4 separate regions of the Homo sapiens genome follow, and all the other regions are linked to region 1. Evidence: promoter capture Hi-C in human tissues and cell types (Jung and others, 2019). All regions are on one chromosome and are shown on one strand. The core of a region is centred on a gene start or on the middle of the fragment in contact, and the rest is flanking DNA. Distances in the headings are between cores, read along the strand shown.

What was found. Contacts are between HindIII fragments. The study calls those that stand out against the background at their distance.
Region 2: a fragment that was not itself captured here is called in contact with the fragment with the promoter of MEOX2 in region 1 in 2 of the 25 tissues and cell types used here (dorsolateral prefrontal cortex and heart left ventricle).
Region 3: a contact is called between a fragment that was not itself captured here and the fragment with the promoter of MEOX2 in region 1, in 2 of the 25 tissues and cell types used here (lymphoblastoid cells and spleen).
Region 4: a contact is called between a fragment that was not itself captured here and the fragment with the promoter of MEOX2 in region 1, in 1 of the 25 tissues and cell types used here (dorsolateral prefrontal cortex).

The regions. Positions count from the first base shown.
Region 1 is chr7:15,684,774-15,688,421 of GRCh38, forward strand. It overlaps MEOX2 (mesenchyme homeobox 2), which reads right to left and starts at 1,910. Exons shown (of 3, transcript NM_005924.5): 1 at 1,113-1,910. The coding sequence starts at 1,629. It overlaps LINC02587 (long intergenic non-protein coding RNA 2587), which reads left to right and starts at 3,605. Exons shown (of 2, transcript NR_110094.1): 1 at 3,605-3,648. RefSeq lists an enhancer at 274-1,106. The HindIII fragment of the contact is 7,827 bases long and covers 416-3,648 here.
Region 2 is chr7:16,035,934-16,039,581 of GRCh38, forward strand. No RefSeq gene overlaps it. Among named protein-coding and RNA genes, the nearest start is that of CRPPA-AS1, 170 kb to the right of the region's middle. The HindIII fragment of the contact is 5,327 bases long and covers 1-3,648 here.
Region 3 is chr7:15,358,344-15,361,991 of GRCh38, forward strand. The region is part of intron 12 of AGMO (alkylglycerol monooxygenase); the gene reads right to left. Among named protein-coding and RNA genes, the nearest start is that of AGMO, 200 kb to the right of the region's middle. The HindIII fragment of the contact is 5,316 bases long and covers 1-3,648 here.
Region 4 is chr7:15,966,468-15,970,115 of GRCh38, forward strand. No RefSeq gene overlaps it. Among named protein-coding and RNA genes, the nearest start is that of CRPPA-AS1, 240 kb to the right of the region's middle. The HindIII fragment of the contact is 6,900 bases long and covers 1-3,648 here.

The DNA of each region.
Region 1 (3,648 bases), core at 660-3,159:
CCAAAAGTATTTAATCCAGGTTGCACTATACCCACGAAAGAAAACTCACAAGTCTCTTAATTTTAAAGTATCTTTTAACAATTTTATAAAAATACAGGTAGGTAAGAGCTTTGAAAACTTGTCTGGAAACTTTGAGTTTCTCTGGATTGCTACAATTTATTCGGCACGTTGTGCCTTCAAGCACCAGAGGTCAGGAAGGTTCCCCTTTTGCATGGCTGCTCAAATTATCCCCACTGAAATCAGCGCCTCCTGCGCGCACCCTTGCATACCCCTTTAGACACGTATCTAACTAACAGTACCCGAGTTGCTGTTGCTTCGCAGTATTTGTCTCTACTAATACCCACTTGGTAGAGGGATTTATTTTCCACTTTTGAAACTTAGGTTCTGTAATTAGCTTACACCACATGGACATGTACTATTAAGGTTCGTCTTTCTTCCAGTGTGAGCATCTATTTATTTACAATTCTCTGACACATTCCTTAAAATCTGAATTCCTAGATAATGTCTTCTTCCCCAATAAAGGGAAAATTTTACCATTTGAAATAGGGTGCTATTTAAAGAACGCTGAAATAAGAATGTTAAAAAAAAAAAACTGAAACTTTTTTTTCTCATGCGCTCTGCCAAGTTCCATTGCAAGTTCCAAACATTGTGCAATAATTTGGAAATCCAGTTAACGATGGGAAAAATCGAGCCACTCAGAGTCGGCAACTTGCAAGAGAAAAGTCAAGAAGCGGCACCCGCACGCACGCCTGCCCAACGGACGCTGCATCCCTGGGCGCACGCCCCTCCCTCCCCAGCGCTGGGATGGAAGGTCACGCTTCACAATCGATTTCACAGCCACTTGTCCTTTTTTATCAACCTTCTGGTAAACTAGTTTAGGACTTTGGAGGGCTTAGAGCTGCTGGCTGTATACGCATTGCTCTCGAATAAACACGTGTCCCCAAATATCAGGACCAAAGCTTCACCGCCGAATTTGGCCGCAGGAAGCCACAGAGGGCAACACATTCCCATCTTCCCTGCTGCCACCCTCCAGTGCGAGAATCTCCCCTAGTATCTCTCCGCCCCTTTTCCAGCCCGGCGCGCACTCTCGAGGGTGCCTGGCGCGCCCTTACCTGAGCTGTCGCTTTTCCTCTTGCCGCCGCTTCGCTTCTCCGCCTCCGCAGGTGACAGTGCCTGGCGGCCGTAGTCCCCCGGCGCGCACGCGGCCCCAGTCGGGGTGCTGGAGCCCAAGCTGGAAGAGTTGGAGCACAGGACGGGCGGGCTGCTCCCCAACTCTGGGGGCCCTCCAGAGTCGGGCTGGAGGCAGAGGCTGTGCCGAGCCGCACTCGGTGGGGAAGACATCTGCGGGAGGTGCCAGTTGGTTTGCAGAGCCTGGTGCTGCTGCTGCTGATGGTGGTGATGGTGGTGGTGGTGGTGGTGGTGGTGGTGCCCCCTGTGATGCTGGCTGGCAAACATGCCCTCTTCGTTGGGGTATCCCGCGATTATGCAAGATGAGGAAGAAGTAGAGAGCTCGGGGTAAGACATATGGTCAGATCTTCCATGGAGGGCGAGAGAGGATTGGGAGAACGGGTGCAAGCCTTGCGCCGTGGCGTGAGGGCTGCGCAGGCAGCCAAAGAGCGGGTGTTCCATAGCATGCAAGTTTCGGGTTCCAGGCAGAAGACTTCACGGCGGTTCCAAAGGCCACCACCCTCTGTCACTTTTTCACTGGAAACCGTGTGATTTTTTTTTTAACCTCCCAAAGCAATAGCGGTGCACTTCTGCAGAGCTCGGATAATCCCGGTCCTGAGCCCCAGCGGCCAGTCTCCTTTACATATGAACAGTCGGACCTGGAAGAGCTTCCCTGAGCTACTCAGATGTCAAGAGTGGGAGAGGTTGAAGCCAAAAGAAGGTGGTCCCAGAGAACTGCTTTCAGGGGGAAATGGCTCTGAGAAGTTATAAATAGAGTGTAACGTGAGCTGGGGGCTGGCTTAGGAGCCCAGAGTTGACCACATGCAAACTCCCTCCAAAACTCCCGCTCAGCCTGCGCCACGCGCTCCCAGTTCCACTTCCTATCTCCTGCTGGACGGACGTAGAGCGTCCACGCCCGCCCAGCACTGCCGGCTGCCAGGACTACAAGCGGCACGCCAACGTCTAAGTCCCGCCCGGGAGGGCAGCAGCTCTGCCCTCCAGACTCTGGAGGCCTGGGCGCGGCGCACACCACCCCCAACCTAGCACCCTGATTCCTACCTACTCACTTTCCTCTCGGGGAAACGTGACTTGTCAGTGTCATTTGGGAACTGTCACCTGCAGAAAAGCTAGGGATACGCCTATCCTTTCAGGAACACGAAAGAAGTAATAGGGTTAAAGGAAAAGACCAGAGCTAGTTTGGCGCACCCTCGAAGTTTTTCAAACTTTGCATCTTCCCGTGCCCCGGGCGCCGCAGCGCGCCTAGGTTTTCGCAGCTGGTTTCTGTCGGTGGGTTGTTAATAGGCTGGGACGCCAGATCTGAGGTTGCGGGGATGAGCACCATGGCCTGGAAAAGGCGGTTCTCAGTGCAGAAAGAAGACGGACCTGGTTGGGTGGGTGGGAGGAAGGCGTGAGTCTGAAAGGGTTGCAGATGCCTGCTCCCTGGCATCCTCACGTGCGATGCCAGGTGGAGGCTCCCTTCCCCCTCTTTCCCGGTCCCGCTCAATTTCCTAGCCACTTGTCCACCAAGAAGAACTTTTCCTGGGTCAAGAATATTTCCAAGCGATTGTGTCCCGGTCATATGAGATGTGTAGATTGCACGCGCATTTCTAGCCTTTCCCCTCAGGAGCTAGCCCAGATCTCCTCGGTTTCCTCCAGAAATCCACTCTCTTCTGCTCAAAAATAAATCCGCTAATGCATTCCTTACCACCAGGGTTCCATTTACTGAGAATTCTTACATTTCGATAGCTCCCAAAATTCACTCACCGTGGGCACTTGGTTACAATTTTGCACCCCTGAAAATAAAATAGAAAACTCGCCTCTAGTAAGCATGCGAGAGCGAGGGCAGGGCTTTGAAGCTGCTACTTGCTTGGCGGGCGACAGGGTCCGCTGGGGGCAGAGTCGTTTACACACAAGTGAGTGGCGCTGTAATGAGCAGGAGGAACAGTCATGTCCCATCTGCGACCTGTCGCATCAGGAGAATATCTGTAGTCACCTATTCTGCCCGGGGCCCCAAATGCGCCACCAGCAGTGTCGCCCCGTTTTTTCATTGTCTCAGGTGTCCAGAGGATGATGACCAGGTCTTTGAAGTTGTTAGTGGGATTAATGGGTACAGCAAACTGGGCTAGACATCTGGTTTGAATTAGGAAAAAGCATTGATTAATCTTTGAGAGGTGTCCCCAAAGCAGAACCTTTCCCCTCCTCTTCCAGTCCCCTTGCTTAAGCCTCACTATCTTCTTTTCTTTTAAGTCACACTGCAGAATAGTGGCTTCGCAATAACATCCGTGTGAAAGATCGAATTGTTTTCTATTGCTCAGAGGTGGGGTGGAGTGGGGGTTGATCAGGAATTCTGAGATTTGTAAGCGCTGCTTTCTTTAACGGAAATTGAGCTCTATTTTGAGGGAAATTAGTTTTGCAGACTTCGTTTAAAAAAAAAAAAAAACTAAATCTTTTGTTCACCAGCTGCTCAGCTTTTCAGTCTGG
Region 2 (3,648 bases), core at 554-3,053, 350 kb after region 1:
GGAGAAACTCCAACCAGCCTGCCCACTGGGGTGGAGCCTCAGGAAGTTCACCCTGTTTGCAGAGGGGAGGAGCCTGGCCCCTCCTCTTCCTGTGTGGAACCTGAGATTCCAATGGCCAGGCTATAAGCTCTCTAGCAGGGACCCCGGCCTAGCTAGAGTCCGTTTCCTCCTTCTTTTCCTTTTCACCCAATAAAACCCTGCCTTGGGCAGGCACGGTGGCTCACGCCTGTAATCCCAGCACTTTGGGAGTCCGAGGCGGGCTGATCACGAGGTCAAGAGACGAGACCATCCTGGCTAACACCGTGAAATCCCATCTTTACTAAAAATAAAAAAAATTAGCTGGGCATGGTGGCGCACGACTGCAGCCCCTCAGTCGGGAGGCTGAGGCAGGAGAATCGCTTGAACCTGGGAGGCAGAGGTTGCTGCAGTGAGCGGAGATTATGCCACTGCACTCCAGCCTGGAGACAGAGTGAGACTCAGAAACAAACAAACAAACAAACCCGCCTTATTCACCAAATTGTCTGCGAGCCTGAATTTTTGTGGCCGTGGGACAATGAACCCTGCCTTTAGCTGAACTAAGGAAAAGTCCTGCAACAGAATAAAAATAAAAAATAAAAATAAAACCCTTTTGTATTTTCTCTTCTCTTCAAACTACTGCACATCACTCCGCTCCCCTTCAATGCAAAGATACTGGGATGATTTTTTTCACACTCACTGATCTTTTTTCCTACTCTTTACTCTTCAACATACTACACTGTGGCTTCTTTCCTCATCACTCCTCAAAATCTTCTCTTCTTTAGGTAATTTGTGACCACCATCTTGTCAAATCTACTTTTTGATTCTCCTCTTCCTTGACATTCCCTGGCATCCTATGGTTGGCATTCTCTCTTTCTTGAAACACTCTTTCCCTTTGGTTTCTGAAAAATCTGACACTTTCCTATCTCATCTTCCTCCTACGTCACTGGCTATAATTTCTAGGTTTCTCTTTCTTCTGAATAGTTGCCTGACTCAGTCCTTCTGTGTGATCTTCTTGGTTGCTCTCATACATAACATTTCTTTAGGGTACCCAACTGTCCTGGTTTGCCAAGGACTGAGAAGTTTCCCGGGACTTGGGACTTTCAGTGCTAAAGCAGGAGTGTCCTGAGCAAACCAGGAAGTCTGATCACCCTAGATCTACATGCTGATAACTCCCAAGATTATGTTCCCAATCCAGACATCTCTGATGAGTTTTAGATCTGCTTGGATTGGTAATATTCATTTCAGACTTAAATTTTTTCAAGACAGAACTTGATTTTTGCCTTCAAACTCTTTTCTCCTTATGTTCTATCTCCACAGATGTCATCAGTAATTATGGCAAAATAAACTAAAGCAAAGAAAACTAGAAATCTTTTATGGCTCCTTGTTACTCTTCCCTTTTCCTCACCCCTGTCCAAGCCACCCTGTCCAAGCCACCATCAGCTCCTCCCTGGACCACAACAACAGCCTCCTAATACCTTCTTAATTTAACTCCTGTACCTTTGTAATCCATTCTGCACAATATAATCTAGGGTAACTCTGGCTTTAAACTAGAGTTCTTTTGGAAAACATACGTAAAAATTCACTTCTTTATAAAACATTTTGGTGAGTTTCTTTGCTCTATGAATAGCAACCAAATATCTCTCCAGGACTTACAACAGTGTTTCTCTACCTATCTGTAAAGAGATGAGTTTGTTTTACTTTTGTTTTTCTATTCCACTGTGGACCTATTTGCACATGGTTAAAAGCAGTTAGCAATGAGATATACCATGCAAGTTTGAAACACCTGAACTTTTCTATGTCCTGAAATGAGTCCAGTGATCAAGTGCTGGAGTCTCAGCAATGTGAAAAGTTAACGTAAAGGTTTTTAACTTTCATGACCAGAAGCGGTCCACAAACCAATTTTACTCTGATCTTAATTTATACAACCCATTCTTTTGCCCCTGAACACAGAGGGCACCCTGGCTTCTCTGTCATTCAAAAGAGCTATTAGGTCTATGGACTCAGCTTAGAGTGTTTTTTGCCCAGCTCTCCACAATAAAGGTTGTTGTTATCCTTCAGGTCTCAGCTCAAATACCCTCTTGAGAGGGGCAATCCCAAACCACCCGTTCTAAATTAGCTGAATTATTTCCTGACTCATCATACAGCTTATTCCCTTTATAACGTATTCTAGGATATCAACATCTATATTTTTCCAGCTTTATTGAGGTATAATTGATACATAAGAATTGTGTATTTAAGGTGTACAAAGTGATGTTTTGATACACATACTTTTTGTATATCATTTTTATGTTTTAATTTGAAGCTTTTATTATAATTATTTTCTTTTTAGAGATGGGGATCTCACTATGTTTTCCAAGCTGGTCTCAAACTCCAGAGCTCAAGCAATCCTCCTGCCTTGGCCTCCCAAAGTGTTGGGATTACAGGTTTGAGCCACCATGCCTGCCTTGTATATCACTTTAACTTTTTTATGTCAAACAAATCTCTATTTTTTGTGGATATCTAGTTAAGAGGTTTCCCTCCACCCCTATATTGTTTATGTCGCTTTGATGATTTCATTGTTTTATATTTAAATTTTTTATCAATTGAGAACTATTGTATATAAGATATATTATATAATAAAAATATATTTTATATTTATGTATATACATTTATGTTTAATTGACATATACGTATGTAAATTATACATAAATATAGCTAAATACTATATAGAGGGGGAATGAGACAAAGAGAGAGGCTTCTGTCCAATTGAACATTTTGCAATGATGGAAAAGTTTTATAATCTGCATTGCCTGATAAATTAGACACTAGCCACATGTAGTTTTGAGCACTTTAAAAGATGGTTAATGTCACTGAGGAGCAGAATTTTTAATTTTTATTCAATTTTAATCAACTTACATTTAAATGTAAATAGTGCTGCTTGCTAGTGGCTACTATATTGGACAGCACAGACATAGTGAGAGTGGGTCCAGCTTTGTTTCTCTCGAGATAAATAGCTAATTGTCAGCCTTGAGTATTAAGTAAGTCATTCTTTTCCCACTGAATAGAAGTATGAATGTTGCCATATATAAAGTTTTTATATACAGACATCTATTTTCCAGATTGTTTGTTTTTTCATGGATCCATATGGCTAAAAACCATATTGATTTGATTATGGTTGACTTTATAGTCTGACAAATAATGTGTAAAGCAAGTTTCCCAGCTTCTCATTCTCCTATATCAAACTTTTCTTGGCTGTTCTCGGACATATATTTTTCCAAGTGAACTTTAATATCATTGTATCCAATTCTAAAATCAACACTTGATGAAGTTCTATTCGGAAGTGTCTTGAATTTATAGAACAATTTGTTTAAGAATTGGCATTTTTACTGTATTAATTCTTCTTATCCAAGATCACAGTATGTTTTTCCATAGTTCAGATGTTATATTATGTTCATCAATAAGATTTCTCAGACACTTCTGCATAGATCCTGTTTCCTTTTTTAAATTATCTATAAGGATATTATGTTGTTTATTGTAAATAGAGTGTTTTTCAATTTTCATTGTTATTTGCTTACAGATAATATAGACAAAATGGTTGATCTGTACTTATTTGTCATGTTTCTATCCTAACAAATTCACATATTCAAGGTT
Region 3 (3,648 bases), core at 450-2,949, 330 kb before region 1:
TGCTTTTTCAAAAGAGCTGCCCAGACGAGATGATAACGTGGAAAGGATAATAAGAAGGCATAATAATTAGATTGCAGAGTTGGAAGACAAGTAGGGTGTTTCCTAAAGGGTGAGATACGTACTAATTAATGTTGGTACTCCGTGATTTCAGTCAGAACTGTGAATTAGGAGGGTAAGAATCCCTCCAGGGATTCCCTTCTTAGATGCAGGTGGGATTTTCTGCACTCCAAACTCAGTCCCTCCCCAAGATAAAAAGACCTTAAACTTCCACTCTCCTGAGCTTAGCAGGGACTTCTGAACCATTGAGAAGGAAGCAACCCAAACCCACTCCTAGATAACTCAAATTCATGTATTCTCTGACATTAACAGCAACTCCCAGAACATGTCTTTGTGGTAAATCTCTGTCACCCAATGCCAGCAAGAGAAGGACAAGGAAGCGCCTCTCTGAGTTTTAGGTCTGTTCTACCTGTCTTAATTTTGCTTGCTTTGCCTTTATTCCTTGAAGTATTGGGGATGATGACCTAAATGTAACATTTTTAAAATAAAGCAGGGGTTGGGATGGAAATGATAGAAGCGATTTTAACAATGGCATTAAGATAAATATCCCCATATTACTGGATGATCCTATTCAATGCCATTTTTATAAGGATTTTATTTTCAGATATGGAGTTTTATAAATTAATTAGATTTAATCCCAGCACTTTGGGAGGCCAAGACAGGCGGATCATGAGGTCAGGAGATTGAGACCATCCTGGCTAACATGGTGAAACCCCGTCTCCACTAAAAATACACAAAATTAGCTGGGCATGGTGGCAGGAACCTGTAGTCCCAGCTACTCGGGAGGCTGAGGCAGGAGAAATGCATGAACCCAGGAGGTGGAGCTTGCAGTGAGCCGAGATCACGCCACTGCACTGCAGCCTCAGCAACAGAGCAAGACTCCGTCTCAACAAAAAAAAAAAAAAAAGAAATTAGATTTATTATTTTTACTCATATTTACTTTAATTTTTGCTCATAAATTGATGACATTTTAAATTTATGCTTTGGGTGTTTCTAATGTGTGGTTTTCTATTACTGTAGTGAAAACATTTCATTTAAAAGAAATATATTTACATTTTTTAAAATGAAATACCTTAAATATAAACATTGAGAAGAGTCAAAGTGGCCTACATATATATCATGTATGTTTTTTTGTAGAAGTAAAGTTTTTTGCAAGCAGTTCTTAAATATGAGTCCAATGAACAAAGGTAATCTTTCATACAACTCAGTTAGAAGCAAAGTTATCTGCTGTGTCTTAGAGCCATCATTTTATTTATCCTAAAATACGTCAACAACTAAACTCCTACCCCTGGTTCATTTCTCACTAAGCTGGGTTGAGTAATCCACATTTGCCAAACAAGTTCTAAATAAAATGTTTTATTGTATGTTACATGGTCACTGCAATCATGACTAATTTGTGATATATGAAATCATAAAATACAAAAAATCCTGAAACCTTTCCATATGATAGTGTATTTGAATTATAGAAAAATACTATAAATTCATGTTCCAAAGACATTTTTAATACTCAGAGAAACTAACTGGGAAAAGGAGAACTTATGTGTTCCTTACTAAGAATCATCACATGTGCCCTACAGCCTGTGCTTTTATTATATTCTCAGTAGTAATTATAGGAGTGGTAATGTTAGTTGTACTGAAGCTTTTGGCGGAGTAGGCACAACATACTGCACGCACATTTACAGACATTATTATAAGTACTTTTTGTATGTATAATCTTATTTAATCCACATGTCCACCCACCAAGGTAGGTACTACTTTTATTATTCTCATTATGCAGAAGAGAAATGAAAGCAGACAGAGGTACTCAAAAATCTGGTTGGAATGACTGATAACAAAATTAAAATAACTACAAGCTTCAAAGGAAGTATTACATCGTTAGCAATAAGTACACTCGACCCTTGAACAACTCGGAGGTTAGTGGGGCCAACCCCCCGTGCGGTCAAAAATTTGCCTATAACTTTCACCTCCCCGGAAAATGTAGCTATTAATCACCTACTGTTGACCAGAAACCTTAGTGGTAACATGAACAGACGATTAACACATATTCTGTATGCTGAATGTATGATACACTGTATTCTCACAATAAAGCTAAAGAAAAGAAAATGTTAAGAAAATAATAAGGAAGAAGTAGGTCATCATAAAGGTCTCTTTTTCTCATCATCTTCATGTTAAGTAGTCTGAGGAGGAGGAGGAAGAGGTGGGTTTGGCCTTGCTATCTCAGGAGTGGCAGAGGTTGGAGGAGGTGGAGGAGGTGGATGAGGTGTAAGGGGAGGCCGGAGAGACAGGCACACTTAGTGTAATATTTATTGAAAAAAAAATCCACATATACATGGACCTGTGCATTCAAACCCTTGTTGTTTAAGGGTCAATTGGATCCAAAAGCTATAATAACTGCCAGGATATGGTCAATTCTTAAGGCAGGCAGTTCTGAGATTAATAAAGAGTACGTACGCATGCCCTCATGCCCACACCTGAGAACACATGCAGATAAAATCAGGTTATGATCCTCATGAAAATAAGAAGAAAAAACCAGATAAATTATAAATAAAGCAGAAATAAGCAGGCAAAATAATTCCCATGCCTTCTTCACCTTAGTGATGCCAGCCAGCTATAGCTAGAATATTGGCATTTTTAAAGAATCCTGGTTTCTGGAAATCATTTGTTACTAAGTGATGCCTTATATGAATAGGAGCCATAGGACACTGCTAACACAGCTTAGAAGCAGCGTCTCTCCACAGTGGGCTGCTCACTGTCACTGTCATCAGCACAATGGTGTCTTTGACTGAAACTGTGACAACTCTAGGGTCATGCAGCCATATCTCTCAAATATTTCCTCTCAGTACCTATCACAAAACTCTGAACATGTGAACTTAGTTGAAAAAAAAAAAAAGATCTTTGGGAGGCCAAGGCAGGCGGATCACCAGGTCAGGAGATTGAGACCATCCTGGCTAACATGGTGAAACCCCATCTCTACTAAAAATACAAAAAAATTAGCCGGGCGTGGTGGCGGGCACCTGTAGTCCCAGCTACTCAGGAAGCTGAGGTGGGAGAATGGCGTGAACCTGGGAGGCGGAGCTTGCAGTGAGCCGAGATCGCGCCACTGTGCTCCAGCCTGGGCAACAGAGCGAGACTGTGTCTCAAAAAAAAAAAAAAAGGTTTTGAGATTTAGATTAAAGGACATCTATGCTCATTAAAGAATACATTCATCACCAAATTAAAAAAAAGAAAGAGAGAGAGAAAGAATAAAACCATTTAGGTAACAGCACATCAACATAACCACTAATGAAGTGTGGTTATATCTTCTTACAATCTATTTTCTCCGCATCGAACAGTTTATGCAAAACAGATAAATAACTTTGCCAGAAAGAGGATAACTATAAATTTGATAGGCACACACCTCCCAAATAATGTAGGAAGACTATTACCATGCAGACTTACTAAGTTTGACTTATATAATAAAATAATACAACAGAAAACCTCCAGCTAGCCTTCTAGATAGAGAAGAGTCACAGGGTTGCAAGCTGATGCTACCAATATATACAACATTGATTTATATTATAGGAGAAAGGGGATTTATTGCTTCACTGACAT
Region 4 (3,648 bases), core at 464-2,963, 280 kb after region 1:
AGGGAAGGGAACATCACATACCAGGGCCTGTCAGGGGGTAGGGGGTCTAGGGGAGGGATAGCATTAGGAGAAATACCTAATGTGGATGACGGGTTGATGGGTGCAGCAAACCACCATGGCACATGTATACCTATGTAACAAACCTTCAAGTTCTGCACATGTATCCCAGAACTTTATATATATATAAACTTGACTGCCAAAAAAAAAAAAAAACTGAACACGCTGAAAACATTTCATCCATAACACTATGTCCTGAAGGTTGTTCCTCACTGTATCTATTGACTTGACCCATCCAAACAAAGAAAAATTCCCAAAAAGAGCAAGTACTGCTAAAGACAGATAGCAGTACTTCGAAAGTCCTAAAAAAAAAATCCTAAAACATTGTTCTTATGCAATCATTCTTAGAGCAGCAAGAACACAGCTCTCAGTTGGCTTTAGCTGCCAAAATAAAACCCAAAGAGTTGTAAAAATCCCACAAATTTAGTTCAACTGTTTAAAACATATTTTTGAACCCCCTGCTATGTGCTGAGCCCTATTGTCTTCTGTAAGTATAAAAATGTGTAAGACATTTTCTTGCTGATACTGGAATAAACACATTTAATCAAAGCCTGATATCAAGTCTAGATAAATGATGGCTATCTAAAGAATATTCCCAAAGAGATCCATTAGCATTATGATTCGGTCAAAACTGGTGCTTAAATAATAATTAACAATCATTTGTTAAGCTCCCATAGCACTCTAGACTCTGAAATCAACCTAAATATATGAAACTTTCACTCATTCCCATGGTGATTTTGGGAATAATGGCCCTATTGTTTGAAGATCTCTCATCTCTAATTACTTATCTGCAAAAAAAAAAAAAAAACCATGCACATTGAGATGCTTTGTTTCATTACATTTAATAGAAAGTTTACACATGGAGACTGCCCAGTACTTTGTACATATGCTACACTATTTGTCCTTAAGTCTACGGATTTCCTTTACTTGGCATGAATTATAGGAGAAGTGCCTAACACCCAGACTGAGTGAGTTATTCTAGCTTATGGTGGTGTTGGAGAGAAAAGTGCATAAACCAGAGGATGTCATTAGACCAGTGACAATGGAGGAGAAAATATCCAGTGCTGACAGCCCTGCTCACTTGCAAGCTGATGGGTGTCAACGTGCAGAGCAGTACAGACAGAATGGCTTAGGAAGGGGTTTGCCGCATCTGGCAAGAAAGGAAGTGTAACAACAAAAAGAGAACAAAATATTGTATGTCTGTGTTTGCTCCACCTAGGAAAAGCAGACACAATGAATCTACAGTATATATAGAGAAGGAACTAACCACATGTATTAATACCGTCTTTGTGCCTCAGCTGTAAAACAGATTCTGGGCTTGTAGTTAAAGTGGCTGCACAGATGGGGCCTTTTCCCCTTTCTTTGCAATATTCTATATTCTAATTATGATTTGCACTGCTTCTGGCATGAAAGCAAGGCCACTGATGTGGCCCCAAGAGTAGGCATGATAAAAAGCCAGGCCCATGAACTCATGCGGCCGCTCTTTTCCACTTCCCTTCTCCTCCTTCTGCTAATTCACTATGAAAATTTTCTTTTTTTGGACAGCTTTTGGAATTCTTCAGTCTGTCTCTGGTTCCTTTTCACTCCCTGAAAGAAAGAAGATTCAACCTTCTAAAGGAACTCAAGACTTACTGGCAGGAGAGGGAGCATAGACTGATTAATAATGTGGTACAAAACTCTGCAAGTATATAAAGTGCTAATAGCCGATTATAGTAAAATAACTTTTAAGGACTAACTAAATTATCTTGGAGTCTACATAAAATCCAAGCGCAAAATCTGTATCATAGGGCACAAATCTCCCACCTCATATGGTACTTCATTTTGGCTCTAAATGTGAAGTTAGTTAATTGTAATACTTAAAGGAATAACACCAACAAGTTAATGAAAATCTCTATATACGATGTTCCAAGTCATCTTATTTTATTTCTGTTATTGCCAGAAGAGCCTTACAAATCTTCTGTCCTGTAAAATTGATGTTTAATGAACTTCACCTTAATAGTCTGTCAAACTCTTATGAAGAACAAATGTTCTTCATAATTTATCATGTAAGCTATATAGCTGTAAATATAGGAAAGAATCTTACATAATTTGTACATATGTTTTAGCTCTTTAATATACTAACACAATTACCAGGTACACCCTTCTATTTCAGTGTCATCTTTTTAAACACTCAAAGAGAATTTTTCTTCTTTTTTGTCTGTTGCAGTCATTTTTCCCCCAGAATCTCAATACTGGCTTTTGCCATTAGGTAATCAGAAGCATTGCTATACTTACTCATCAATTCATTCAGTTATCCATTCAGCAAATATTTACTGAATGCCAACTATGTTCCAGGAATTATTCTAGGAAGTACAGTAGTTCATAAAACAGAATGGAGCAAAAATTCTACCCAATAGAGGTAGATAATAGGTAAAATAAACAAGTAAAGTGTATAATAAGCTAGATATATGAATAGATGTCATGGAAAAAAATTAAGAAATGAATATATAAACAAACAGAATGGAATATCAAATATTGTGACCAAGAAATGTTTCACAGAGAAGGATAGTTAAATGCATCTATAAAGAAAGACAGAAATACAGTTAGATGGACTTGTGATAGAGAATTGTTCTGTAAAGGAAACAAGTACAACAGTTTTGAAGATAGATTATGAGTGAAGCATGCGAGGAAGAGCAAGGTGGTGAATGTGGCCGAAATAGATTAACAAGTAGATGATGATCACAGAGCCCTGAACAGACCATATTATGTAGAACACTGTAAACTCATTCCTACTCTGTTTAAGATGAGAAGACATTGGAGAGTTTGTGTAAAAGAGTGACATGTATGAATTTATGCTTTATAAATCTCTTATATCGATGATAAACTGTTGGGATAACAAAGGCAGAAACAAGGATACGAGTTAGGAGGTTATTGCAATTCCTTAGACCAAAATTGATAATGATCTGGAATGAACTAAGAGCCATGAAGAGAGTACAGACTGGTTGGATTATAGATGTATTTTAAAGGTACAGTGAGCAGCACTTGGTGACAGACTGGATACAGGTTATGAAAGAAGGAGAAAGGTCACATATGAATCCCAGGATTTAGGTCTGAGAAAATGAAAATGTGGAGTTGCCATTTATGGAAATGGGGAAGACTCATTGAGAAGCAGGTTTGAAGAGAAAGATGGAGTGTAACTTTGGACTTGCTAAATTGCAGATGCTTATTGAATATCTAAGAAAAGAGAGCTGAAGTTGAGAAGAGAGGCATAAGCCATTTAAAAATCAAATGATTTTTAAAATTATGAAAAAGATGAGGTTGTCAAAATAGTGAGTATAGGGAGAAAAGAGCAGAGTCTAAGGACTGAGCCTTGTGGTACTTTGACAATTTGTGTTCTGAGAGATTAAGAGAAATCCTCAAAGGAGACCAAGAAGGAGCAGCCAGTGAAATAGAAAAAAATTGGAGAGTGTAGTATCCTGGAAGCCACATAAGGCAACTTCTAGAGAGGAGGGAGTGATCAACTGTATCAAAATCTGGTAAAAGTTTAAGTAAGATGGTGAAAAAATAAGAACCTACCATTGGATTTAGTGATATGGAGGCTGCTGGTACTTT